7 separate regions of the Homo sapiens genome follow, and regions 1, 2, 3, 5, 6 and 7 are each linked to region 4. Evidence: promoter capture Hi-C in 16 types of primary human blood cells and fetal thymus (Javierre and others, 2016). All regions are on one chromosome and are shown on one strand. The core of a region is centred on a gene start or on the middle of the fragment in contact, and the rest is flanking DNA. Distances in the headings are between cores, read along the strand shown.

What was found. The method cuts DNA at HindIII sites, captures the fragments that hold promoters and counts their contacts. A CHiCAGO score of 5 or more calls a contact.
Region 1: a fragment that was not itself captured here is called in contact with the fragment with the promoter of YTHDC2 in region 4 in 6 of 17 cell types (naive CD8 T cells, total CD8 T cells, naive CD4 T cells and 3 more); the score reaches 7.7 in naive CD8 T cells.
Region 2: a fragment that was not itself captured here is called in contact with the fragment with the promoter of YTHDC2 in region 4 in 6 of 17 cell types (naive CD4 T cells, naive CD8 T cells, total CD4 T cells and 3 more); the score reaches 11.2 in naive CD4 T cells.
Region 3: a contact is called between a fragment that was not itself captured here and the fragment with the promoter of YTHDC2 in region 4, in 10 of 17 cell types (naive CD8 T cells, activated CD4 T cells, naive CD4 T cells and 7 more). The highest score is 11.1, in naive CD8 T cells.
Region 5: a fragment that was not itself captured here is called in contact with the fragment with the promoter of YTHDC2 in region 4 in 6 of 17 cell types (naive CD4 T cells, activated CD4 T cells, total CD4 T cells and 3 more); the score reaches 9.8 in naive CD4 T cells.
Region 6: a contact is called between a fragment that was not itself captured here and the fragment with the promoter of YTHDC2 in region 4, in 9 of 17 cell types (total CD4 T cells, total CD8 T cells, fetal thymus and 6 more). The highest score is 9.6, in total CD4 T cells.
Region 7: a fragment that was not itself captured here is called in contact with the fragment with the promoter of YTHDC2 in region 4 in 4 of 17 cell types (total CD4 T cells, naive CD8 T cells, naive CD4 T cells and 1 more); the score reaches 7.6 in total CD4 T cells.

Annotation. Positions count from the first base shown.
Region 1 is chr5:112,894,407-112,898,221 of GRCh38, forward strand. The region is part of intron 3 of REEP5 (receptor accessory protein 5); the gene reads right to left. It also overlaps a transcript of SRP19 not described here. Among named protein-coding and RNA genes, the nearest start is that of REEP5, 26 kb to the right of the region's middle. RefSeq lists a silencer at 2,413-2,462. The HindIII fragment of the contact is 631 bases long and covers 1,066-1,696 here.
Region 2 is chr5:112,940,031-112,943,675 of GRCh38, forward strand. No RefSeq gene overlaps it. Among named protein-coding and RNA genes, the nearest start is that of REEP5, 20 kb to the left of the region's middle. The HindIII fragment of the contact is 985 bases long and covers 1,778-2,762 here.
Region 3 is chr5:112,957,784-112,961,461 of GRCh38, forward strand. No RefSeq gene overlaps it. Among named protein-coding and RNA genes, the nearest start is that of DCP2, 17 kb to the right of the region's middle. RefSeq lists an enhancer at 2,209-2,503. The HindIII fragment of the contact is 1,819 bases long and covers 1,092-2,910 here.
Region 4 is chr5:113,511,901-113,515,665 of GRCh38, forward strand. YTHDC2 (YTH N6-methyladenosine RNA binding protein C2) reads left to right here and starts at 1,794. Exons shown (of 30, transcript NM_022828.5): 1 at 1,794-2,182; 2 at 3,372-3,462. The coding sequence starts at 1,996. It overlaps LOC124901046 (a long non-coding RNA gene), which reads right to left and starts at 1,758. Exons shown (of 2, transcript XR_007058905.1): 1 at 1,531-1,758; 2 at 1-1,040. RefSeq lists enhancers at 1,550-1,599, 1,596-2,097 and a silencer at 2,050-2,279. The HindIII fragment of the contact is 3,291 bases long and covers 485-3,765 here.
Region 5 is chr5:112,878,491-112,882,118 of GRCh38, forward strand. REEP5 (receptor accessory protein 5) reads right to left here. Exons shown (of 5, transcript NM_005669.5): 5 at 1-345. The coding sequence ends at 296. It also overlaps a transcript of SRP19 not described here. Among named protein-coding and RNA genes, the nearest start is that of SRP19, 19 kb to the left of the region's middle. The HindIII fragment of the contact is 1,702 bases long and covers 411-2,112 here.
Region 6 is chr5:112,857,544-112,861,230 of GRCh38, forward strand. No RefSeq gene overlaps it. Among named protein-coding and RNA genes, the nearest start is that of SRP19, 1.9 kb to the right of the region's middle. RefSeq lists enhancers at 3,509-3,687, 3,562-3,641. The HindIII fragment of the contact is 291 bases long and covers 1,846-2,136 here.
Region 7 is chr5:112,838,766-112,841,922 of GRCh38, forward strand. APC (APC regulator of Wnt signaling pathway) reads left to right here. Exons shown (of 16, transcript NM_000038.6): 16 at 1-3,157. Among named protein-coding and RNA genes, the nearest start is that of SRP19, 21 kb to the right of the region's middle. The HindIII fragment of the contact is 3,863 bases long and covers 1-3,157 here.

The DNA of each region.
Region 1 (3,815 bases), core at 131-2,630, 620 kb before region 4:
CACCCTGCTGCCTTTTGGTTTTTAATATCCAAAATTCATACAATGTTTTACTGTAGTTGCTTATATAGGAAAAGCTATACATCCCCAAAATGCAATACAACATTATGATATGCAGGAAATGTCTTGAGTAACATTTTTGACAGAATATCAGAATCCTTGGTGGACATTTTGAAGAATATGCAGAGCATCACAGGGGATGTGCTATGTATTCCTGCACACAGAGCAATTGTTACTTACTATATTAACTATTTGGAGAGCAGCAAGTGTTTTTAGCATCTAACATCCTAACATGATATTTGTTATATATAGGTATTTTGCTGTATTTTATTAATACTTAGTGAATTCGTTGAGTTTTACATTGACATGTAATACATTAAAATTTTTCCCACTTAAAATAGTGGAAAATAAGCTTCTGCATAGAATGTATTCCTACATAGAATATCTGATTTTCAGAAATGGATTATCAAGAGAGAGACAGATGTCCATATTAAAACCAGAGCATTAAGGTGAAGTGAAAATGACTCATTGGATTAAGAATCAGGAGAGGTGGGGCTGGGCGCAGTGGCTTACGCCTGTAATCCCAGCACTTTAGGAGGCCGAGGCAGGTGGATCACGAGGTCAGGAGTTCGAGACCATCCTGGCCAACATGGTGAAACCCTGTCTCTACTAAAATTAGAAAAAAAATAGCCGGGCATTGTGGTGGGCACCCGTAGTCCCAGCCACTCAGGAGGCTGAGGCAGGAGAATCACTGGAACCCAGGAGGCGGAGGTTACAGTGAGCTGAGATTGCGCCACTGCACTCCAGCCTGGCGACAGAGCGAGACTCTGTCTCAAAAAAAAAAAAAAAAAAAAATCAGGAGAGGTGGGGTGTGTTTTATGACTTTAGGCAAATCAACCTAAGAGACAGTTTTCTCTTCTGCAGAGTTTTAGGAAAGTCACAAATTAATGTACTTGAAGAAAGTGTACAATAGAATAGTAGTATTACCAAATCCTAAAGTTCTTATTGTGGAAAATCTCTGAAATATTACCTGCCTATGTAGATGCCAACCCTTCAGCAATCCAGACAAGCTTATTATCTTTTCTGGATGAATTAAGTGTCCACAGTTTTGTACCTCTTCAATGTGATTACTTTGTAGGCTAGACTGCAGACTGTTAATTGACTACTTTCTGGTACCCTCTAGCTATTGTCTTGAGACAGTAAAATAATTACTGCTCTCTAGCTACATCCTTAGCATTTTCCTGTTCTGAAATGAAATCATTTTCTTATGTTAAAAATAAAGTTAATTACTGTTCAACTCCCAAGGTGATATTCAGCTGCCACCTCTTACAACCCTCTCTTCTTAATCTGTGTAACTATTCTACAGCCCAGGAATAGCCTGAGTTTATTAAAGTCACCCACACAGATCTGGCTCTTTTCAATCAAGCTGCCCTCAAAGTGCCAGCTGATGATACTCCCAAGGAGACTCACAAGCCCACTGCTGCCTGCAGTTCAGACAGAGTCCATGCTATTTTAACTGGACTCTTGGCACTATTAGCACTGACACAATGACTCCTTAAATTACGAATTACAACAGGCCATTCTATTCCGTCTGTGCTTCTAATGCTGTCACCATGTGATTTTCCCCCAGAAGAGATATTTCCCAGGTAGGGGTATGCTTAACATGCAGTTACGGAACTGAGAGTTAATGTCAGAAGAAAGCTTTTGCAGTGTAGCCACAGAATAGTTACAGGCTACATTGCTCAGCATGCACAAATAAAAGCTTAAAAGAACGTGTTAAAGGAAAGATTTCCCTGTCTTTTTAGCCTCCTACGAACATTAAGAAGAAAAATGTTGCGAGGCACAGTGGCTTACGCCTGTAATCCTAGCACTCTGGGAGGCTGAGGTGTCCAAGAGGATCACCTGAGGTCAGGAGTTTGAGACCAGCCTGGCCAACATGGTGAAACCCCATCTCTACTAAAAATACAAAATTTGCCTAGCGTGGTGGTGGGCACCTGTAATCCCAGCTACTTGGGAGGCTGAGGCAGGAGAATTGCTTGAATGCGGGAAGTACAGGTTGCAGTGAGCAGAGATCACGCCACTTCACTCCACTCCAGCCTGAGTGAAATAGCGAAACTCCATCTCAAAAAAAAGAAAAAAGAAAAGAAAAATGTTATATTCTCTGTCAATGGGTGAAATAGCACAGGTGACAATTCAGGTCAGGACCTAATCTTGCCAGAGTTTACTCAACCTTGTTCTAAAAATAAATCTAGCCAGGCCTGGTGGCTCACGCCTGTAATTGCAGCACTTCGGGAGGCTGAGGTGGGTGGATCACAAGGTCAGGAGTTGAGACCAGCCTGGCCAACATGGTGAAACCCCGTCTCTACTAAAAATACAAAAATTAGCCGGGCGTGGTTGTGCACCTGTAGTCCCAGCTACTCGGGAGGCTGAGACAGGAGAATCACTTGAACCTGGGAAAGAGGTTACAGTGAGCAGAGGTCACGCCACTGCACTCCAGCCTGGGCGACAGAGCAAGACTCCGTCTCAAAAAAAGTAAAGTAAATCTAGAAAATGATTTAAATGAAGGTAAACAGAGGATACAAAGATATTAATTGCAGCATTATGTATAATCGCATGACAAATGTCCTCAATGTCTTTCAATTGGGAAGTAGGTAAATTATCAATAACATTAGATAGCTATGTCAAAAAATACTGAATAACATGAGAAAATACTCAGAATACTGTGTTAATTGAAAAAAGCAAGACACAGAATTATATATCATATGTGATCTAAGCCACACATATGTTAAGACAGCAATACATACATATATATATACACATACACACAGAGTTCTGTTTTTATTTATATACACAGACCAATATATTTGCACATTTTAAAAAATAGGAAGACTACTCTAAGATGTAGGATTACAAATGTTATTTTCCTCCCTACATAAAACACATCCCATCACACACACACACACACACACACACACACACACACACACACACAAATGTAAACAGTAGGACAACAAGGACTTTGTTTTATTCGCCAAAGTATCTCCCAGATGTAGAACAGAATCTGGCACATGGAGGTTCTAAATAAATCTGCTGAATAAAGGAATGAGCATATGTAAATTTCATAATCAAGAAAAAAAGCTTTTAAATTTATTTTTAAACCCTCTTGCTCAAGGCCAGATGTCAGAGCAAAGCTCAGAATATGCATGATCCAATTTCTACCTAAATACATCATATATTATCTTCTCAACTAAGCTTTGATGCCAAGCCATTGGCTCCTTTTATTTTCCTCCAATCTTATCAGCTGCTTTAGAAAAATGAAAATAAAGCCAACAATATTAACTCTGCAAAAAATAAAATATTAAACATGTCCTCGGGCTGGGAGCAGTGGCTCACACCTGTAATCCCAGCATTTTGAGAGGCCGAGGCGGGCAGATCACTTGAGGTCAGGAGTTTGAGACCAGCCTGGCAAACACGGCGAAACCCCATCTCTACTAAAAATACAAAAATTAGCTGGGTGTGGTGGTGCGTGCCTGTAATCCCAGCTACTTGGGAGGCTGTGGCAGGAGAATCGCTGGAACTGGAGAGGCAGTGGTTGCAGTGAGCCAAGATGGCACCACTGCACTCCAGCCTGGGTGACAGAGCAACACTCTGTCCCAAAAAACAAAAAACAAAACAAACCCATGTCCTTACTTGTAAGTCTCTTTCCCACACTTCCAGTCAGCATGCGATTGCAACAGCATAGGTAAGATGGATTCTAGTCCCTAAAATTCAATACTCTCCTGAACCTTCTCCTACAGACGAGACTCTGCAATTCAGAG
Region 2 (3,645 bases), core at 1,020-3,519, 570 kb before region 4:
GGTCTCACTCTATTGCCCAGGCTGGAGTGCAGTGACATGATTGTGGCTTACTGCAGCCTCAACCTCCCAGGCTCAGGTGATTCTCCTACTTCAGCCTCCCTAGTAGCTGGGACTACAGGTACATAATACCACGCCTTGCTAATTTTTGTATTTTTTGTAGAGATGGGGTTTCACCATGTTGCCCAGGCTGGTCTTGAACTCCTGAGCTCAAATGATCTTCCTGCCTCGGCCTCCCAAAGTGCTGGGATTACAGGCATGAACCACCACACCTGGCCAACTTTTATGTTTTTGATATATATTAATATATTCCTGTTGTTTAACTTTTGAAAATAATGAATATATATTACTTTTTAATACTACTTTTACAACCATAATCAAATCTGTTTTCATTACAAAGGGAAAAAATAACCACAACTCTACTGGAAAACCTGTAAGCCAGAATTTGGTTGAGATCTCACTGATAAATGGTTATTACCCTTATGACCTCCTGCCATCTCATAGTCTGCAAGTTAATTTTAATATTCTATATTGTTGTAAATGAAAATGTGAACTACATAAACTATACATATTTAAAGTGAATTGTGACTACATTTAGGATGTCTAGATGAGATGGAGCTTGCATTTTTCTGGTTTATTGACTTGGATAGTTATTTCTAATAAATCCAGCAATAACAGGACAAATGAAAGCTACCACAACAGGAAGGAATTAAAAACCGCAATCATTTTGTTGCCATTTTTGTTATTGCCATAGGTGGTAAGATTGATTTCCTTTTTGAATCCAAGGAACTGAGCTATAAATGACCCTTCCAAGGTGAACACGGGGAGAAAGCCTTCTATGCACAGTCAGCATTCTCTACCATCCATTTTGTTAGTCTGCAGGGCTGCAAGAAAAAGGGCCTTCATGGTGTGTAGATTGAGTTGTGGCTAAACTGGAGCATTTACTTGGGCACCTCTACAGCCCCTTCAGTGTCCTTTTTCCTCTGAGGATGAATACTCTTCTACTCCCACACTCATTTTCTTTATAATATCTGCTTTCAGAAAAAGTCTGAAATGTACTTATAATGTGCCACCACCTAAATAGGGAACAAACCTAGGGAAGTGTTGGGGCTGGAATGATCAAGTCTGGCACAGTCTCTAGACCTTGACTAAATAACTGAAGATGAGAGCTCCAAGACAACCTGCCCCTATATCTATATAGAGTGATGAATTTGTAGCTATAATAAAATATTTTACCCATAAAGTTCTGGCCCTATGGATGTGGGTGTTTTTATGCCTTTGTGGGTGTCTTTCTCTTCTATGTTTGGACTTGCTTTTTATGCCCCTATTTCTTTTTCTCTCTTCATTTCTTTTCTTTTCTCTTTACTTTTTCCTCTTAATTGGCCATAATATATTGTGAAAGCTGATTTCTTATTGACCTTATCAAGTAATTATATTTTCTATGTACTCTGTGTTAAGAATGAAACTCGGCTGGCACTTATTTGGAGGCTAGGGGTCAACTATGTTTTATATTCCATTATCACTAATTGACATTGCATTATTCATTTATTGGTTTATTTCTCCTATTGTGTAAACACCCTGAGAGCTGGGCCTTGGTCTCATTCTCTGCTGTATCCCAATGGGGTCCACTCTGCAGCCACAGGAGAGGTCCTTCATTTACCCTGTCCCAATCCCAATCCTTTCCTTTTCCCCTGAAAGTAACTACATCTTGAGTTTTATGTTCATTGCTTTCTTGCTTTCTTTATAGTTCTGTCGCCCATGATGCACCTCTAAACTCTGAAGCTTAATTTTCCTTCTAACTATATACATCTTTTAAGTCTCTTTTACCTACCCCTTCAATCCCCTTTGCCCCACCTTTTTCAACTTACTTCTGAAAGAAACTGGGTTGTTTTATCTGACTTGTAGAGTTTCCCACATCTGTATTTTGCTGATTGCATTCCCATGTAATTTACACTTGTCTGTTTTCTGTATTTTCTATAAATTGGTAGTGAGATTATGGCCTTGATCAGATTCAGGTACAATTTTCAGGCTAGACTCCTTTGTAGGTGACTTGTAGAAAATATGTAATAACTGATTGTCTCTCTCTGTGTGATGTTGGCAACCACTGATCCATTAATTCATCAGAAATTGAAAACTTCTCTACTTCTACTTGCTTACTTTGTATAGAAAAGACAGAATAAATGCTTAATGAAAGTGCATCTTTAGGTGTACAATATATAAAACAAATATATACAAATAAGAGAACTTACTAACCACAGACCTACAGTGAAAGATCTACTAAAAAGACATACTTCAGTTAGAAGAACAGTAAACCCAGGAAGAAAAAATTAGATGTAAGCAAACATGAAAAGCATAGAAATTGATAAGTTGGTAAGTACAATTAACTATCAATATAAAAAATAATTTGAGGGTTAAAAATAATATGGGGGCCAGGTGCAGTGGCTCACGCCTGTAATCGCAGCACTTAGGGAGGCCAAGGCGGGCAGATCATCTGAGGCCAGGAGTTCGAGACTAGTCTGGCAGACATGGCAAAACCCCGTCTCTACTAAAAATATATAAATTAGCTGGGCGTGATGGCATATGCCTGTAATTCCAGATACTCAGGAGGCTGAGGCAGGAGAATTGCTTGAACCGGGAGGTGGAGGTTGCAGTGAGCTGAGATTGCGCCATTGCACTCCAGCCTGGGCGACAAGAGTGAAACTCCACCTCAAAAAAATAAATTAAAAATAAAAACAATAATGTGGAAGTACTTACTAGGTAATTAAAGCTTGTTTAGGTTTGTGTCTTGTTCAGGAGAAGGAAAAAACACTGTGTATGTAATTGGAGACTTTATAGGAAAAATGTAGAGATATTCATGTTAAAAAAAATAGAAATGCTATGCATAGCCTTAAAACCAACAAAGAAGGAAAGAAGAATATAGAAAATTTCATCAGTCCCAAAGAAGCAACAGGAATAAAAAGAGAAAAAGAAAAAAAGAAAAAGGGTAGTAAAGCAAAGACCTAAATTAGATGGTAAAAATAAATTTAAATATACCAGGATGACTGACTATATAAGTTTATTAGATAGAATTCATTTACTAATAGATAAAAATCATCTCATTTGATTAACAAGCAAGCAAACAATAGTGTAAATAGTTCAAGGAGCCCACTTAAAACCATCCAGAAATTTCAAGATAAAAGTAAAGAAAAATATAACAATCAAATACTAATAAAAAAAAGAGTACGCAGAAATGCTAATAACATAATGGAATTAACAGCAAATGAATAGAATTATTATTATTATTATTTTTTTTTGAGACAGAGTCTCGCTCTGTCACCCAGGCTGGAGTGCAGTGGCACGATCTCGGCTCACTGCAACGTCTGCCTCCCAGGCTAAAGCGATTCTCATGCCTCAGCCTCCAAAGTAGTTGGGATTACAGGCACCCGCCATCACACCTGGCTAATTTTTGTATTTTTAGTAGAGATGGGTTTTTGCCATGTTGGCCAGGCTGGTCTCAAACTCATGACCTCAAGTGATCCCCCCAATTCAGCCTCCCAAAGCGCTGGGATTACAGGCATGAGTCACGAATAAAATTTAAGATGAAAAGCTTCATTTGGGGTAAAAATGAAAACTTTTTAATGATAGAATAATTTAAGTCAGGCGTGGTGA
Region 3 (3,678 bases), core at 751-3,250, 550 kb before region 4:
AGGCTTGGACTTTTTAAGCATAAAAATTGCCTACATTTCAGAGCTTGCAGTGAGCCGAGATCGTGCCACTGCGCTCCAGCCTGGGAGACAGAGCGAGACTCCACGTCAAAAAAAAAAAAAAAATTGCGTATATTCTTTATTTCCAGCGGAGTCCTTTCATTGATTTGTATTAATTTTTCATATTCAAAGTTAGGAAAATTAACTTTTAGAAAGTCATTTACTACTAAAAATAATGAAACTCTTTTAAGTAGTAAAATAGAGTATACTGATTTTTGCTTAAAAAAGAAATTTCTTGGCCCTGTTGCTGGCCACCTGGCTCTCTGTCCTTAAACCAAATCCATCCCTCAGAGGCCACTAGCCAGCAAAGGCCAGATGCAGACCCTCCCAGTTTAATCAGAACAGTTGCCAAAATCTTGTTCATTTCCAACCTGATCTTTTATTACTCTGTCTCTGACTTGGACAGTGTGGTCTCCTTACCCCACACTTCCATTCCAATTCCGCATCCCTTCCCAAAATTCTGATTCTGCTTAAGACCATCTACATGTGCTGTTTGTACTTGGCTTCCAGGGTGCAGTTTGACTTTCCAGTCTCTCAAATATTTTTGATCTGGACTGTTTCCATCTCTTTTGCAGGGTGCTTAGTCGTGCTGACAGAAAGTTACATGGGATATAAAAATGTAATCTCAGGGTTGCTTGAAAAGTGTTGAATTGAAATGAAGCCTAAGCTGAGTGATTTTCAAGGTTAAAGGTCCTATTAGAGCCATTATATGGAAGTACTGCCAAGCAGATGGTTAAGTTGGTTACTCAGTGTTTCTTTAGTCTGTGGGACTTGAGGCGCAGTGCCAAACCCTGCAGCTCAGATCTCTTTCAGGCTTTCCCTGTGTACCCTGGTGACTCATTGTTTTTTTAAAGATGCAAATAATGTTAGCGAACTGTCTAATTCAACTCTTCCCCCTTGGACCCATGAGACAGTTTTCTGCAGATAGCATATTTTGCTCATGATATATCAATTTTATTATTGTAAATCAGAGTGTTCTCAACTTCTCTAAGTGTTGGTGGCCATTCTTGTTTGTGCCAAATTAGCAGGGTCTAAGCTTCTGTCTCTATTTCCAAGGTTACCGTCCTGCCAATCATCTTTTGCTCTCATCACTTTTTTTTAATGCTTCTTTGCTTTCCTAATAACCATGTATTCCAAATGTAGGTACAGACCTCTCCCTTGACTCCCCCAAAACATAGTGAGAGCAGACTTAGTGTGTTAGTTAGGACTCTTGGTTGCAAGAGACAAAAATTCTATTCAAACTGGTTTTAAAGAACAACAACAATGACAAAAAAGAGAATGTATTGGCTAAGGTAATGAAAGATCCAGGGAATATATGTAGTTTGAGGCTCGGTTGGATTCTAGGGCTCAAACAGTAAGATAAGAAATTACTCCATTACTCAGAGTAATGGAGTTTGAAAAAGAAAATAGAAAAGAAACAGAAAGTGGCTTCTCTTCATCTCTTTCTCCTGCTTTCTTCTGTTTTGGCTTCATTCTTATGCAGGCTTTCCTGAGTGGTAGCAGAGAAAGCACTGGAATCCCCAGGCTTATGTTCCTAGCACTTTAGCAAGCCCAACAGAAAGAAGAAGCATTTCTTTTCCAATCAGTTAAGAAGACATCCTCATGTTGGGTCTTTGGCAATTTGGCTTGGGTTCCTAGCTTTTTTTTTTTTTTTTTTTAATGGAGTCTCACTCTGTCACCCAGGCTGGAGTGCAGCAGTGTGATCTCTATAGAATGAATAAGACTTAGTATTTGTTTTTTGTTTTGTTTTGTTTTGTTTTTTTTGAGACGGAGTCTTGCTCTGTCGCCCAGGCTGGAGTGCAATGGCACGATCTCGGCTCACTGCAACCTCCGCCTCCTGGGTTCAAGTGATTCTCCAGCCTCAGCCTCCTGAGTAGCTGGGATTACAGGTGTGTGCCACCACGCCCAGCTAATGTTTGTTTGTTTTTTTAATAGAGACGGGGTTTTGCCACGTTGGCCAGGCTGGTCTCGAACTATAATTTTTTGTTGTTTGTTTGCTTGAGACAGAGTCTCACCCTGCCACCAAGCTGGAGTGCAGTGGCAGGATCTCGGCTTACCGCAACCTCCAACTCCCTGGTTCAAGTGATTCTCCAGCCTCAGCCTCCCGAGTAGCTGGGATTACAGACACGTGCCACCATGCCCAGCTAATTTTTGTTAGAGACGGGGTTTCGCCATGTTGGCCAGGCTGGTCTTGAACTCCTGACCTTCGGTGATTCACCTGCCTTGGCCTCCTAAAGTGCTAGGATTACAGGCGTGAGTCATCATGCCTGGCCTCCTGGCTTATTTCTTAAATAATCATGGTGACAAGTGCTCTTGGAGGTTGGAGTGAGGGTGGAGGGGTTAGAAATGAGGAATCAAACCCACTCAGAGTACATGAATGAGAATGGGGGAGGAGTTGCTCCTGAAGGAAAAACAGCTTTATGCTTCCAGAGAGAAAATGAATGCTGAGAAGTTTTTTTGTTTGTTTGGTTTTTGTTTTTTGTTTTTTAAAGAGGCAGATGCTCACTGCACTTGGACTTTAGCAAAGAAAATTACTTTTCAGAAAAGGAAAAAGAATCCCCCTTAAAATGAAAGCATGTTGATATTCTGGCTCCTAGATCCATCTGTGCAGGGGCCTGCTCTTCCAGCTGTCACCCTCCTTAGGCCTCTGGTGCTAGGAGCATCTTTGAAATCATAGATGACAGATGGGGATTCTCTGACCTGGAGCCCTACCCAGGCTGCAGGCCCTCAACTATAGCCTTTTTTTTTTTTTTTTCCTAGAAAGAGGAAATCCTTCCTGCCTGCTTCTTCTCTCTTCTTCCAACATCATAATCCTCTTTCTGCAGTGCCTCAACTCTGCTCAGAGGAAGATAAAGCTTCGCATCATTCTTCAGAGCTGTTTACCTTCAATTGTCTCAAACTCTTCTGTCTGTAATAGTTTTGGAGCTTTAATTTTGTATGCTAAAAGGGCCTATTAAAATGTTTTTATCCAAAGAAAAGTGCACTCTCAAGCCTTAACTGAGAACTACCTTTGCCTCTACATGAGGAGAGGATTACTTATGTCAGTTTGGACTACTGTCTACATATAACAGAAAAAAACCAGTATCATCGCTTAAACAAAGTAGACATTTATTTCTCTCTCTCGCTCAGTAAAAGAATTCTAGAAATAGGCACTCCAGAGCTGGTTTAGTGGCTCCAAGGTCATCAGGGACCAGAGAGTTCTATTTTGCTACTCTGCTCAGGTTACCGATTGCTGGCGACAGGAAGGGACAAAGAGGAAGGGGTGGAAAAGAGGCTTCTGCTTTCTTTTAACAACTTCCCAAGGGTTCTAGACCACCGTTATGCTTGTATCTCCTTGGCCAAATGCAGTTTCACATCTAGCAGCATATGGCCGTGAGACAGACAAGGACATGTAGGCTTTTAAATGAGGCCTTTAACTGAGAGGAGGGAGGAGATTGGACATTGGAGAGGGCAGCTCCCAGTGATGGTGTCTGTCATATTGTTGACTTGCCAGTCAAGGGCTCTGTAATACTGACTGGCCTGGAACCCACTGTGCTGCTTTGATCTTGGAGGACCAGGATGCCTTTTCACTACCCTCTTTGCTGCTCTCAAGCCCTTATTTCAGCTGATATTTTGGTAGTC
Region 4 (3,765 bases), core at 544-3,043:
TATAGATGAGAAGAGAGCAGTCTCCAGACCACTGTGCTGTGGCATGCTCGTATGCCACAAGTTGTTTACAGGCATATCAAGATGTTGATGACCCCAGTTCTTAGGCAACTGGGTACAAACTGGAACGGGTGAAGCTAGTTCTTTCAGCCTAGTCACTTATGCCCAAGATCAGCCTTATCATTGTACAAATATATTAGTCAGAATAAGCTAACTCTTTGTATCAGTTATCTACTGCTGTGTAAGAAACCCAACCTAAAACTTAGTGGCTTACAGCAATATTCATTTTATTTGTTTATGTGTTCTGTGGGTCAACAGTTTGGACTATGTTTAGCTAGGTGGTTTTGCTAATCTTGCTTTGGGTTGCTTACAGAGTTGTGGTCATCCAGCAGCTTTTCTAAGACTAGACTTTCCATTATGGCCTTTTTCACGTCTTGCCCTTGGTGCTGGTGGATGATTGGGCCATAGTTGTCAGTGGGCTAGCCTAAGCTTCTTTACTTTGTGGAAGAAGAATTCTCAGCAGCAAAACAGGCTAAGCCTTAATGCACAAACACCTTTCAAGCCCCTGCTTATCTCGTATTTGCTGATGTCCCAATGGCCAAAGCAAGTTACATAGCCAAAGACAGAGTCCATGTGGGAAGGAAGAATACAAGGGTGTGAACAGAGGAATGTGTGATTCATCAAAGGCCATACCTTTGATGAATTCAACAATTTACCATAATGTTACAAAAAAAAATCTTCCCAAATCTCAGCAGTTTACCACAACTAAGAATTATTTCTTACCCATGTCATATTCCAATGTGGGTTGGTGAGGACACTCTATCACACTCGTTCAGGGAATCGGGAACCTGTTATCTATCTAGTGGTTCCACCGTTGTCTAAGAACTTCCAGAAGACCAGGAAAGACAGAGAAGGGAAGATTCAAGGAAGGTGTTATAGACCAATCCTGGAAGTGGTATACATCAGTTCCAGCAACATTCCAATGGCCGGAACTCAGCCATGTGGCCCCCAGCTAACTGCAGGAGAGTTGGGAAATATAATGCCTAGGAAGAAAAGATACTTCTTGTCACCAAATATTCCGCCCCCTTCTTACCACACACAGAATACACATATACCCTCCCCAGACACCTGGAATTCTATCTAGTCACTGCATCCAGGATCTGTTGTTGATACACAGTCCTCTTTATTAGATCCAGATGTATATCCTCATTGCCAGGTAACTCATGAACTATGTAAATATGTACTACATACCTGCCCCCACTCAGCTACCCTGTGTAGCGTGATAGAGCAAGGGTGGCATACTTGCATTAAAATCTCCCATTCAGAAAAGGGAAGAATGCAAGACACACAACAGTGGCTCATTCTTTAGTATATGTATTTTTTATGATATTTTTCCAAATATTGCATGGGAAATATATACACTAAAAATTATTCGTTTATCTGAAATGCAAATTATTAAGCATTCTGTATTTTTATTTGCTAAATCTGGCAACCCTCCTCCCACTAAAATATAAACTCCATGAAGGTAGGAACCTTGGCTCTCTGGTTCTCCAATGTACATCGAAGGCGTGGCATAATGCCAGGTCCACAGTAGAAGCCCATACATGCTTACTGCAGGAATTAATGAAGGACTAAACGAAGTAGCAAGTGAGTGAATAAGAAGATGAGGAGCGACCCTTGGTGGGCGGCGCGGGAAGAGAACCGCACCATAGCTCCGCAGACAGCCTCCTTTAGGCGCGCAGCGGCGGCCGCGCTGAGGTCACGGGCGCCGGCCCTGGTGACGTCATTACGCCCGCGCTCCTCGCCTGGCCGTGATATCAATGGCGCAGGCTTCACTTCTGCTGTGGCGGTGACTGAGGCCTTTCTGGTGACCTCAGCCCAACACAGGCCGTCTCCGGAGCTTCCCGGTAGTGGCCCCGGATTCCCACGGTCTTTGTCATTGGCTGTCAGCTAGCAGGCCTGGCCGCTCCCGTGCGGAGAGACCATCTCTTCAGGGCAATGTCCAGGCCGAGCAGCGTCTCCCCGCGGCAGCCGGCTCCTGGCGGTGGCGGAGGCGGCGGCCCCTCGCCTTGTGGCCCTGGGGGCGGCGGCCGGGCCAAGGGGCTGAAGGACATTCGCATTGATGAGGAGGTGAAGATCGCAGTCAATATCGCGCTGGAGCGCTTCCGATACGGGGACCAGAGAGGTGAGGTTCCGGACAGGGACCATGCTGGCAGTCAGGATACCCCCCTCACCCCAGCGCCCCCCAAACGGCGGCCCACCGAGTGATGGGGGTGCCTCCGAAGAGGGAGGGAAGACCCGGGCCACCGTCCGGGGCGGGCCTCAGCGGCGGCACCCGGGTCTGGAACGCGGCTGTTGGCCCTGCGGTGGAATGCGAGGTGCTCTGCGGATCAATGGGGTTATGGGCACTTTGCTCCCTAGCTGAAAGTGTTTTTCCCCCGCGTCTTTCAGCAGCCTTGGGCGGTTAAGCCACCGTGTTTCAGATATTGGTTAGCCCTAACCCTTTTTAAGGGGGTGTCACCTAATTGTGGCACGTTTAAGCTACAGATGTAGAAGAGCAGAAAGAAATCAAACATATAAATAAATGCACCAGCAATACGTTTGGACCCTGAAGCATCACGCTACCCACTTAAATTAAACTTGTTTGGCACACGAAGCATCTTCCACACCTCTTGAGGTTAGATAGCCACTTGTCTTGGGTCATATAATGCAGAACCAGCAACTGACCTGCGGTGACCTGTGCAGTCTGTTGAGGGCTCATTCGGACCTGCTGGCTTAGTTAGGGGACCTCTTACTCTGGAATCTTATAGTCCAAAACGGGGAATGTTCTAGACAGAGAGATTCTAAATTCACATTAAAAAAAGAGAAAGCCTCAGCAATATATAACAAATCCCTCTGAAATAGTGAAATACGAATTCTGTACAGTTTTGAAAGCAAAGACAATGGAGTTTCATGTTGAGAATTCATAATATTTGAACATATCTCATCATTGAAGAAAATAAACATTTTGTTAACTAAACAAGTAGGGACCAAGTTAAATATGTTCAGTCATTATACCAACTCAAAATTCCAGAACAAGTAAGAGGAGTCGTTTTTGGTGAATATCAGAGGCCTTTATCACATTTAGGTTTAATACATAGCTGTCTTTTTATTAATATCAGAATTCTGATAGACATTCAGTAGTTATTGAATTAATAAAATATCTTAATTTTATTAATTTACATAAATAGAATATGAAATATAAAGTTAACCTCAAATAAAGTATAATAAATTTGATTGTCTATGTATGTTTTTCATATTTTGTATCTGTGTGTTTTACTTGAGAGAAAATTGCCTATCTACAAATTTTACTACTTTGTTTTTTTTCCGTGTAGAAATGGAATTTCCTTCTTCTTTGACCAGTACTGAAAGAGCCTTTATTCATCGACTCAGTCAGTCTCTTGGTTTGGTCTCTAAAAGTAAAGGGTAAGCTGGTAGCTTTTCTTATTTTTTTTAAAAAAGATTATTTGCCCAAAAAAGGGAGAAACGTTTCTGAGTACATTTAAGTACTTATTACTGTTTTAACTTCACATTCTTAATTGTATCATATGTAGATAAAAGATTCAGGTCTGTACCAAATTCAACTCTTTCCTCTTCCCTCTGTCTACCTCTTCCCCCCTTTTTTGTTTTGTTTTGTTTTTCCCTAGGAAAATGCTTTTTCTTCTACCCAGCTTAGGTTCCTTGGCTGGGACCCTGCAAATTAGACTGATAAAAGACATATTAACAAGA
Region 5 (3,628 bases), core at 12-2,511, 630 kb before region 4:
ATTTTATTTTAAGTTTATATTTCCTGCAGGATAGCAACATACATCTTTTCCTACCCAGAGGCAAAATACATTTTCCAAAAACGTGGACACTGCCCACTGCATTAAGTTTAAAGTGCTCCCTATATATATAGACAGTAAAAGTAAGCAAAGAAACTTACAACACATTCCAATCTTTAATATCTCAAAAATGTTTCCAAGGCAACATTATTAAAATAATTATACCACAGTCCCTAATATAACATCAAGCTCCAGTAGGAAGGTACAGAGAGGGCAGGAAGTTTCCATCCAGTCTGGTTTAGGTGCTCTTCTTTTCTTCACCCAGTAAATTCACGGTAGCTTTCTTCGCTGTTTGTTTGTTAGGAGGGAAAGAAAAATATATCAAAGCTCTTTCTTTGGAATGCAAGCTTGCAAGCTTTGTGCCTAATGTAGCTACTAGATAACAAAACTTGGATGACTCATGTTCAGGTGCGATCATGTTGGGGTTTGTGGTCTGGGCTAAGAGGGTTTCCAGGAAATGGAGAAGGTACCTCTTAGAGCACAAATCCTAAATACTTGAGCAAAATACTTGAAGGTCATCTAGCCTAGCCCCTTGTTGTGACAGTGTCACCGAAACTGTCTGCCCTCTATTCTCCTTTAAGCATTGAAAGAAGCAGAGATTCCTTAAGAGTAGTGTTCAAATTCTATTTGTATCTGTGTGCTTGCCTGTAAGATTTCACTTATCAATATATTATCAATCTGATGACAACTAGGTCATCATATTTATCCCATGGCGACAAATCAGAGAAGTCCTCATTCCCAGCACTAGAAATACAGTCATCCCTTGATATATGTGTTTGGGGGGGGGGGCTGGGGGGGCGGTGGGGGAGAGGAGATTAGTTCCAGGAACCCTACAGATACCAAAATCTGTGAGTGCTCAAGCCCTTAAATAGAATGGCATACATAGTATTTCCATATAACCTATGTGCTTTCATATACTTTATTTATTTACTTATTTATTTTTTGAGACGGAGTCTCGCTCTGTCACCCAGCCTGGAGTGCAGTGGCGCGATCTCGGCTCACTACAGGCTCTGCCTCCCGGGTTCATGCCATTCTCCTGCCTCAGCCTCCCGAGTAGCTGGGACTACATGCACTCACCACCACGCCCAGCTAATTTTTTTTTGTATTTTTAGTAGAGATGGGGTTTCACTGTGTTAGCCAGGATGGTCTCAATTTCCTGACCTCGTGATCTGCCCGCCTTGGCCTCCCAAAGTGCTGGGATTACAGACGTAAGCCACCATGCCCGGCCTCTTCCATATACTTTAAATTCGGCCAGGCATAATGACTCATGCCTGTAATCGCAGCACTTTGGGAGGCTGAGGTGGGAAGATCGCTTGAAGCCAGGAATTTGAGACCAGCCTGGCCAATATGAATGGTGAGACCCCCACCCCCCACCTCTATTTTAAAAAAATTTTAAAAGCCCATCTCTAGTTAAAGTACCTAATGCAACATGAATGCTATATAAATTGTTGTTATACTAAATTGTTTTTAAAATCTGTATTTATACTCTTATTGTGCCACCATTCTCTCCTATGATGAGAAGAGTTTGCTCTAAGTCTTTGAGTTGGTGACAAGACACTACATTCATCAAGAAAACATTCTGTCCAGGTGTGGTGGCTCATGTCTATAATCCCAGAGCTTTGAGAGGCTGAGGTAGGAGTATTCCTTGAAGCCAGGAGTTTGAGATCACCCTGGCCAAAACACAGTGAGAGCCCATCTCTATAGAAAAAAAAGAAAAATATATTTTCTTACTTCTGCAGGAGACCAAGCCTTCCACTTTCTAATTACCAAGTGGCAGGGAATGTGCTATGAGAACCAGTACAGTGTGTAAGATGGAGGGGAAAGGGGTTGTCTAGAAGCCTCCAGGGCCCACTGTGAGATTTTACAATCTGCAGCTGTTCTTGATGGAGCCAGAGCCTTAGTGATGAGAGCCAAGGAGTCCCTTCTTGTCCACCAGCTGCCTGATAGTTGCTCTCCCTTTGCTCAGTTAAAATTACTGAACCAAGTTCACAGCAAAGGAGAAAATGTAGTCCTTCCCTTAACTAACCCTTTGTAGAAATTCCTAGTTAATCCAAAAGCTTTGAGAAAAGTCTAAAATGTGGCAGCATGTAAATTCCTCCTAACTTATTTTAATTCTCTTGCCCCTATTTAGGAATGTGTCATAACAAAGTAAGATTGGATTTTAAGTATTGATATCTAAGAGAACCAAGAGGCTAAGAAATGTGGGTGAAGTAGACAGAAATGACATCACCACAGGTTGCTGATTAGGCTAAGGGAAGGGAGAAGAAAAGAAAGCTCTTAAAAATAAGCTGGTAATCCTGGCTGGGCATGGTGGCTCATGCCTGTAATCCCAGCATTTTGAGAGGCCGAGGTGGGTGGATCACTTGAGGCCAGGAGTTTGAAACCAGCCTGGCCAACATGGCATAACGGTGTCTCTACTAAAAATACAAGTATCAGCTGGGCGTGGTGGCCCACACCTGTAATCACAGCTACTTGGGAGGCTGAGGCAGCAGAATCCCTTGAACCTGGAAGGTGGAGGCTGCAGTGAGCTGAGATCATGCTACTGCACTCCAGCCTGGGCAACAGAGTGAGACTCTGTTTCAAAAAAAAAAAAAAAAAAAAAAAGCTGGCAATCCTAAAGTGGGAGGAGGTTAAGGCTACAAGTTAAAAAATACCTAAAACATATTCAAGTAGACTGGATTTGTATGCCCAAAAATAGGAGTCCAGAGAAGAGAGGTCTGTGAGGGAGAAATGGGGAACATACCACTTCTGGGGCATCAGTGCTGCTGGAGAACTGTCTTGGGATTTTACTTCCCCATGGTCAGGCAACCTCACAACTCCCATGTCTAACTACCACAGAGCTCTAAAACACAAAAACCTTTCTCCAATTTCTAAAATCTGAGTCCCTCTGGAACTCAAGACCCATCACTGGCAAAATCTATATCCTCATCCATTCCTCCGAATGTTTCCTTTACCTTCTTGCTCTTAGAGAAAGCTGGCTGTGCCCTGAGGACACTGCTTTCTCAAGTGGTGGCTGTTTCTTTCCTCTCATGACCCTAGTACAAATGGATCTGGTAGGTGTTGTTTTTGTTCTTCATTGCCACTTTCAGAATCTCATGTCATCAGATTCTATCACTGAGTAGCCTTCCCTTTCCCTGTCATCCCTGACTCTTGGGCTACTTTGCCTTAGTTCTTGAAGATTTTAGCTCCTAACTTAATGTTCCTTTCTAACACTACTCCTATTATTTATTTATTTAGAGACAGGGTCTCACTCTGTCACCCAGGCTGGAATGCAGTGATGCCATCTCAGCTCACTGCAGCCTCAACCTCCAGGCTCAGGTGATCCTCCCATCTCAGCCTCCTGAGTAGCTGGGACTACTGGTACGCATCACCACATCTGGCTAATTTTTGTGTTTTTTTTTTTTTGTAGAGACTGGGTTTCACCATGTTACTCAGGCTGGTCTCAAACACCTGAGCTCAAGCAATCCACCCACCTTGACCTCTGGAAGTGCTGTGATTACAGGTGTGAGCACTGCACCTGACCTACTACTCCTATTTTAATTATTGATGATTTTAATATCCATGTAGACAT
Region 6 (3,687 bases), core at 741-3,240, 650 kb before region 4:
GAAGGTCTTGCCTCAGTGTTGATGTCTGCTGACTGATCAGGATGATGGTTGCTGAAGGTTGGAGTGGTTGTGGTAATTTCTTAAAATGAGACAACAGCGAATTTTGCCACATCAACTGACTCTTCCTTTCACGATAGATTTCTCTGTAGCGTGTAATGCTGTTTGGTAGTATTTTACCTATAGTAGAACTTCTTTAAAAACTGGAGTCAGTCCTCTCACACCCTGCCACTGCTGTATCAACTAAGTTTATGCTATTCTAAACCCTTTGATGTCATTTCAACAATGATCACAGCATATTCACCAGTGGTTTTCATCTCAAGAAACCACTTTCTTTGCCCATTCATAAGAAGCAACTCCTCATCATTCAAGTTTTATCATAATTGTAACAATTCAATCCCATCTTCAGTTTCTACTTCTAATTCTAGTTTTCTTGCTATTTCCACCACATCTGCAGTTATTGCCTCCACTAATGTCTTAAAGTCCTCAAAATGATCCCAGAGTGTTGAAATCAACTTCTTCCAAATTCCTGTTCATGCATCAGCATATTTTAACCTCCAATGAATCACAAATGCTCTTAATGCCATCTAGAATAGTGAATCTTTTTTAGAAGGTTTTCAATTTATCTTGCCCAGATCCATCAGAGGAATCACTATTTGGCAGCTATAGTTTTACAAAATGTATTTCTTAATAAGAGATGAAAATAAAAATTACTATTTGATCTGTAAACTGCAGAATGGATGATGTGTTATCAGGCATGAAAACATTAATCTCCTTCTAGATCTCCATCAGAAACTTAGATGTCTAGAGGTCTAGGTGCATTGTCAATGAGCAGTAATATTTTGAAAGGAATCTCTTTTTTTTTTCTCTGAGTAGTTGTTTTCAACAGTGGGCTTAAAAATATTCAGTAAAGGCTGGGTGCAGTGGCTCACGCCTGTAATCCCAGTACTTTGGGAGGCTGAGGCAAGAGGATTGCTTGACCCCATGAGTTCAAGACCAGCCCGGGCAACATAGCAAGACCTTGTCTCCACTAAAAATAAAAATAAAAATCAGCCAGGCATGGTGGCATGAGCCCATAGTCCCAGCTACTCAGGAGGCTTGTGTAGGAGGATTGCTTGAGTGTGGGAGGTCAAGGCTGCAGTGAGATGTGATAGGGCCACTGCATGCCAGCCTGGGTGACAGAGCGAGACTGTCTCAAAAAAATAGTTCAGTAAACCATGCTGTAAACAGATGTACTGTCATCCAGGCTTTGTTGTTCCATTTAGAGAACACAGGCAGAGTTGATTTAGCATCATTCTAGGGTCTCTAGGATTTTCTGCATGGTAAATGTCCATTGGCTTTAACTTAAAATCACCAACTGCATTGTTCCCTAACAAGATAATCAGCCTGTCCTTGGCAGCTTTGAAGCCAGGCATTGACTTCTTCTCTCAAAGAGACAAGGATTTTGGGTGCTACATCCTAGATGGCATCTTTTTCCAATAGAAGGCTGTTTTGTCTACATTGAAAAACCTGTTGTTTAGTGTAGCCACTAAATGGGGCAGCTCTGAAGCCAGACATTGACTTCTCTCAAAGGGACAAGGATTTTGGGTGCTACATCCTAGATGGTATCTTTTTCCAATAGAAGACTGTTTTGTCTACATTGAAAAATCTGTTGTTTAGTGTAGCCACTAAATGATACTAGCTAATCATTGATCATCGTCAATGATATTAGCTACATTTTCTGGATAACTTGCTGCAGCTTCTCTATCAGCACTTGCTGCTTCACCTTGCACTTTTATGTTATATGTTATGGAGATGGATTCTTTCTTAAACCTCCTGAACCACCCTCTACTAGCTTCCCACTTCTGAAGCTTCCTCACCTTTCTCAGCCTTCACAGAATTGAAGGGAGTTAGGGCCTTGCTCGGATTAGGCTTTGGGTTAAAGGAATGTTGTGACTGGTTTGAGCTTCTATCCAAACCCCTAAAACTTTCTCCATATCAGCAATAAGGTTGTTTTGCTTTCTGATCATTTGTGTGTTTATTGAAGTAATTTCCTTTTAATTCCTTCAAGAATTTTGTCTTTGTATTTACAACTTGGCTGTTAGGTGCCAAGAGGCCTAGCTTTCAGCCTATCTTGGCTTACATATGCCTTCCTCACTAAGCTTAATCATTTCCATCTTTTGACATGTGAGACGTGTGACTCTTCCTTTCACTTGAATACTTAGAGGCCATTGTAGGGTTACTAACTGGCCTAATTTCAACATTGTTGTGTTTCAGGGAATAGGGACTCCAGAAGAGGGAGAGAGATGGGAAATGGCCAGTTGGTCGAACAGTTAAAACATACACAACATTTATCCATTAAGTTCCCCATCTTATCTGGGCATGGTTCATGGTGCCCCAAAACATTATTATTATTTGAGACGGAGTCTTGCACTGTCGCCAGGCTGGAGTGCAGTGGTGTGATCTTGGCTCACTGCAACCTCCACCTCCTGGGTTCAAGAGATTCCCCTGCCTCCCGAGTAGCTGGGACTAAAGGCCTGTGCCACCATGCCTGGCTTATTTTTTATATTTTAGTAGAGATGGGGTTTCACCATGTTGGCCAAGATGGTGTCTATCTCCTGACCTCGTGATCCACCTGCCTCGGCCTCCCAAAGTGCTGGGATTACAGGCGTGAGCCACCGCACCCGGCCTTAAAACTATTACAATAGTAACAGCAAACATCACTGATCACCGATCACCATAACAGAAATAATGAAAAGGTTTGAAATATTGCAAAAATTACCAAATGTGACACAAAGTATACGCTGCTGGAAAAATGGCACCAAGCAACTTCTTTCAGGCGGATTTGCCAAAAACCTTCCATTTGTAAAAAGGCAGTATCTACTCGCAGCAGCAAGTGAAGTGCAATAATGAAGTATGCCTGTAGTGATGGCACATGGTATCCTTCAGAAGTTTTAAAAGGTGAATAGTTTTGTTTCGTTTTTCCTAGACGGAGTCTTGCTCTGTTACGCAGGCTGGAGTGCAGTGGTGTGATCTCAGCTCACTGCAACCTCCACCTCCTGGGTTCAAGTGATTCTCCTGTCTCAGCCTCCGAGTAGCTGGGATTACAGGCGTGTGCCACCACACTCGGCTAATTTTTGTATTTTTAGTACAGACGGGGTTTCAGCATGTTGGCCAGGCTGCTCTCCAACTCCTGACCTCATGATCCACCTGCCTCAGTCTCCCAAAGTGCTGGGATACAGGCGTGAGCCACCGCACCCGGCCTAAAAGGTGAATAGCTAAGTTTCTAACGCAGAGCACACTGAAACACAACGTCTATAACTTTGCTAGTTCTACCACTACAAAAATCCATTTTGCCAAACTGAAAGCAAGCTCTAGAGCCCAGGAACGGAGAAAAATTAAACGTAAGGAGTATTTCCTTCCCTGTCTAACATATATTTGCATCCTGAACCACACAGATTCCCCTCGTGGCACAGTCTTCGCCCCTTAACAGAGAGTAGCTAGTACCACCCATACTCGCTGAGAAACTGGAAACGAGGGAGGGTCGAAGTTAAACCCTTTTTAGTGGCGGTGCATGCGCCCCACATGGTCTTCCCGGCTTGGGAAAGGAATGAGAAGCTTTCATGATTCTCTCGCGAGAAGGGAAGTCTTCATGCCACGTCAGAGACTAGAGATCCTGGCGCCGAGCGACAGGTGCCGGAACAAACAGGC
Region 7 (3,157 bases), core at 28-2,527, 670 kb before region 4:
GATGAAATAAAACAAAGTGAGCAAAGACAATCAAGGAATCAAAGTACAACTTATCCTGTTTATACTGAGAGCACTGATGATAAACACCTCAAGTTCCAACCACATTTTGGACAGCAGGAATGTGTTTCTCCATACAGGTCACGGGGAGCCAATGGTTCAGAAACAAATCGAGTGGGTTCTAATCATGGAATTAATCAAAATGTAAGCCAGTCTTTGTGTCAAGAAGATGACTATGAAGATGATAAGCCTACCAATTATAGTGAACGTTACTCTGAAGAAGAACAGCATGAAGAAGAAGAGAGACCAACAAATTATAGCATAAAATATAATGAAGAGAAACGTCATGTGGATCAGCCTATTGATTATAGTTTAAAATATGCCACAGATATTCCTTCATCACAGAAACAGTCATTTTCATTCTCAAAGAGTTCATCTGGACAAAGCAGTAAAACCGAACATATGTCTTCAAGCAGTGAGAATACGTCCACACCTTCATCTAATGCCAAGAGGCAGAATCAGCTCCATCCAAGTTCTGCACAGAGTAGAAGTGGTCAGCCTCAAAAGGCTGCCACTTGCAAAGTTTCTTCTATTAACCAAGAAACAATACAGACTTATTGTGTAGAAGATACTCCAATATGTTTTTCAAGATGTAGTTCATTATCATCTTTGTCATCAGCTGAAGATGAAATAGGATGTAATCAGACGACACAGGAAGCAGATTCTGCTAATACCCTGCAAATAGCAGAAATAAAAGAAAAGATTGGAACTAGGTCAGCTGAAGATCCTGTGAGCGAAGTTCCAGCAGTGTCACAGCACCCTAGAACCAAATCCAGCAGACTGCAGGGTTCTAGTTTATCTTCAGAATCAGCCAGGCACAAAGCTGTTGAATTTTCTTCAGGAGCGAAATCTCCCTCCAAAAGTGGTGCTCAGACACCCAAAAGTCCACCTGAACACTATGTTCAGGAGACCCCACTCATGTTTAGCAGATGTACTTCTGTCAGTTCACTTGATAGTTTTGAGAGTCGTTCGATTGCCAGCTCCGTTCAGAGTGAACCATGCAGTGGAATGGTAAGTGGCATTATAAGCCCCAGTGATCTTCCAGATAGCCCTGGACAAACCATGCCACCAAGCAGAAGTAAAACACCTCCACCACCTCCTCAAACAGCTCAAACCAAGCGAGAAGTACCTAAAAATAAAGCACCTACTGCTGAAAAGAGAGAGAGTGGACCTAAGCAAGCTGCAGTAAATGCTGCAGTTCAGAGGGTCCAGGTTCTTCCAGATGCTGATACTTTATTACATTTTGCCACGGAAAGTACTCCAGATGGATTTTCTTGTTCATCCAGCCTGAGTGCTCTGAGCCTCGATGAGCCATTTATACAGAAAGATGTGGAATTAAGAATAATGCCTCCAGTTCAGGAAAATGACAATGGGAATGAAACAGAATCAGAGCAGCCTAAAGAATCAAATGAAAACCAAGAGAAAGAGGCAGAAAAAACTATTGATTCTGAAAAGGACCTATTAGATGATTCAGATGATGATGATATTGAAATACTAGAAGAATGTATTATTTCTGCCATGCCAACAAAGTCATCACGTAAAGCAAAAAAGCCAGCCCAGACTGCTTCAAAATTACCTCCACCTGTGGCAAGGAAACCAAGTCAGCTGCCTGTGTACAAACTTCTACCATCACAAAACAGGTTGCAACCCCAAAAGCATGTTAGTTTTACACCGGGGGATGATATGCCACGGGTGTATTGTGTTGAAGGGACACCTATAAACTTTTCCACAGCTACATCTCTAAGTGATCTAACAATCGAATCCCCTCCAAATGAGTTAGCTGCTGGAGAAGGAGTTAGAGGAGGGGCACAGTCAGGTGAATTTGAAAAACGAGATACCATTCCTACAGAAGGCAGAAGTACAGATGAGGCTCAAGGAGGAAAAACCTCATCTGTAACCATACCTGAATTGGATGACAATAAAGCAGAGGAAGGTGATATTCTTGCAGAATGCATTAATTCTGCTATGCCCAAAGGGAAAAGTCACAAGCCTTTCCGTGTGAAAAAGATAATGGACCAGGTCCAGCAAGCATCTGCGTCTTCTTCTGCACCCAACAAAAATCAGTTAGATGGTAAGAAAAAGAAACCAACTTCACCAGTAAAACCTATACCACAAAATACTGAATATAGGACACGTGTAAGAAAAAATGCAGACTCAAAAAATAATTTAAATGCTGAGAGAGTTTTCTCAGACAACAAAGATTCAAAGAAACAGAATTTGAAAAATAATTCCAAGGTCTTCAATGATAAGCTCCCAAATAATGAAGATAGAGTCAGAGGAAGTTTTGCTTTTGATTCACCTCATCATTACACGCCTATTGAAGGAACTCCTTACTGTTTTTCACGAAATGATTCTTTGAGTTCTCTAGATTTTGATGATGATGATGTTGACCTTTCCAGGGAAAAGGCTGAATTAAGAAAGGCAAAAGAAAATAAGGAATCAGAGGCTAAAGTTACCAGCCACACAGAACTAACCTCCAACCAACAATCAGCTAATAAGACACAAGCTATTGCAAAGCAGCCAATAAATCGAGGTCAGCCTAAACCCATACTTCAGAAACAATCCACTTTTCCCCAGTCATCCAAAGACATACCAGACAGAGGGGCAGCAACTGATGAAAAGTTACAGAATTTTGCTATTGAAAATACTCCGGTTTGCTTTTCTCATAATTCCTCTCTGAGTTCTCTCAGTGACATTGACCAAGAAAACAACAATAAAGAAAATGAACCTATCAAAGAGACTGAGCCCCCTGACTCACAGGGAGAACCAAGTAAACCTCAAGCATCAGGCTATGCTCCTAAATCATTTCATGTTGAAGATACCCCAGTTTGTTTCTCAAGAAACAGTTCTCTCAGTTCTCTTAGTATTGACTCTGAAGATGACCTGTTGCAGGAATGTATAAGCTCCGCAATGCCAAAAAAGAAAAAGCCTTCAAGACTCAAGGGTGATAATGAAAAACATAGTCCCAGAAATATGGGTGGCATATTAGGTGAAGATCTGACACTTGATTTGAAAGATATACAGAGACCAGATTCAGAACATGGTCTATCCCCTGATTCAGAAAATTTTGATTGGAAAGCTATTCAGGAAGGTGCAAATT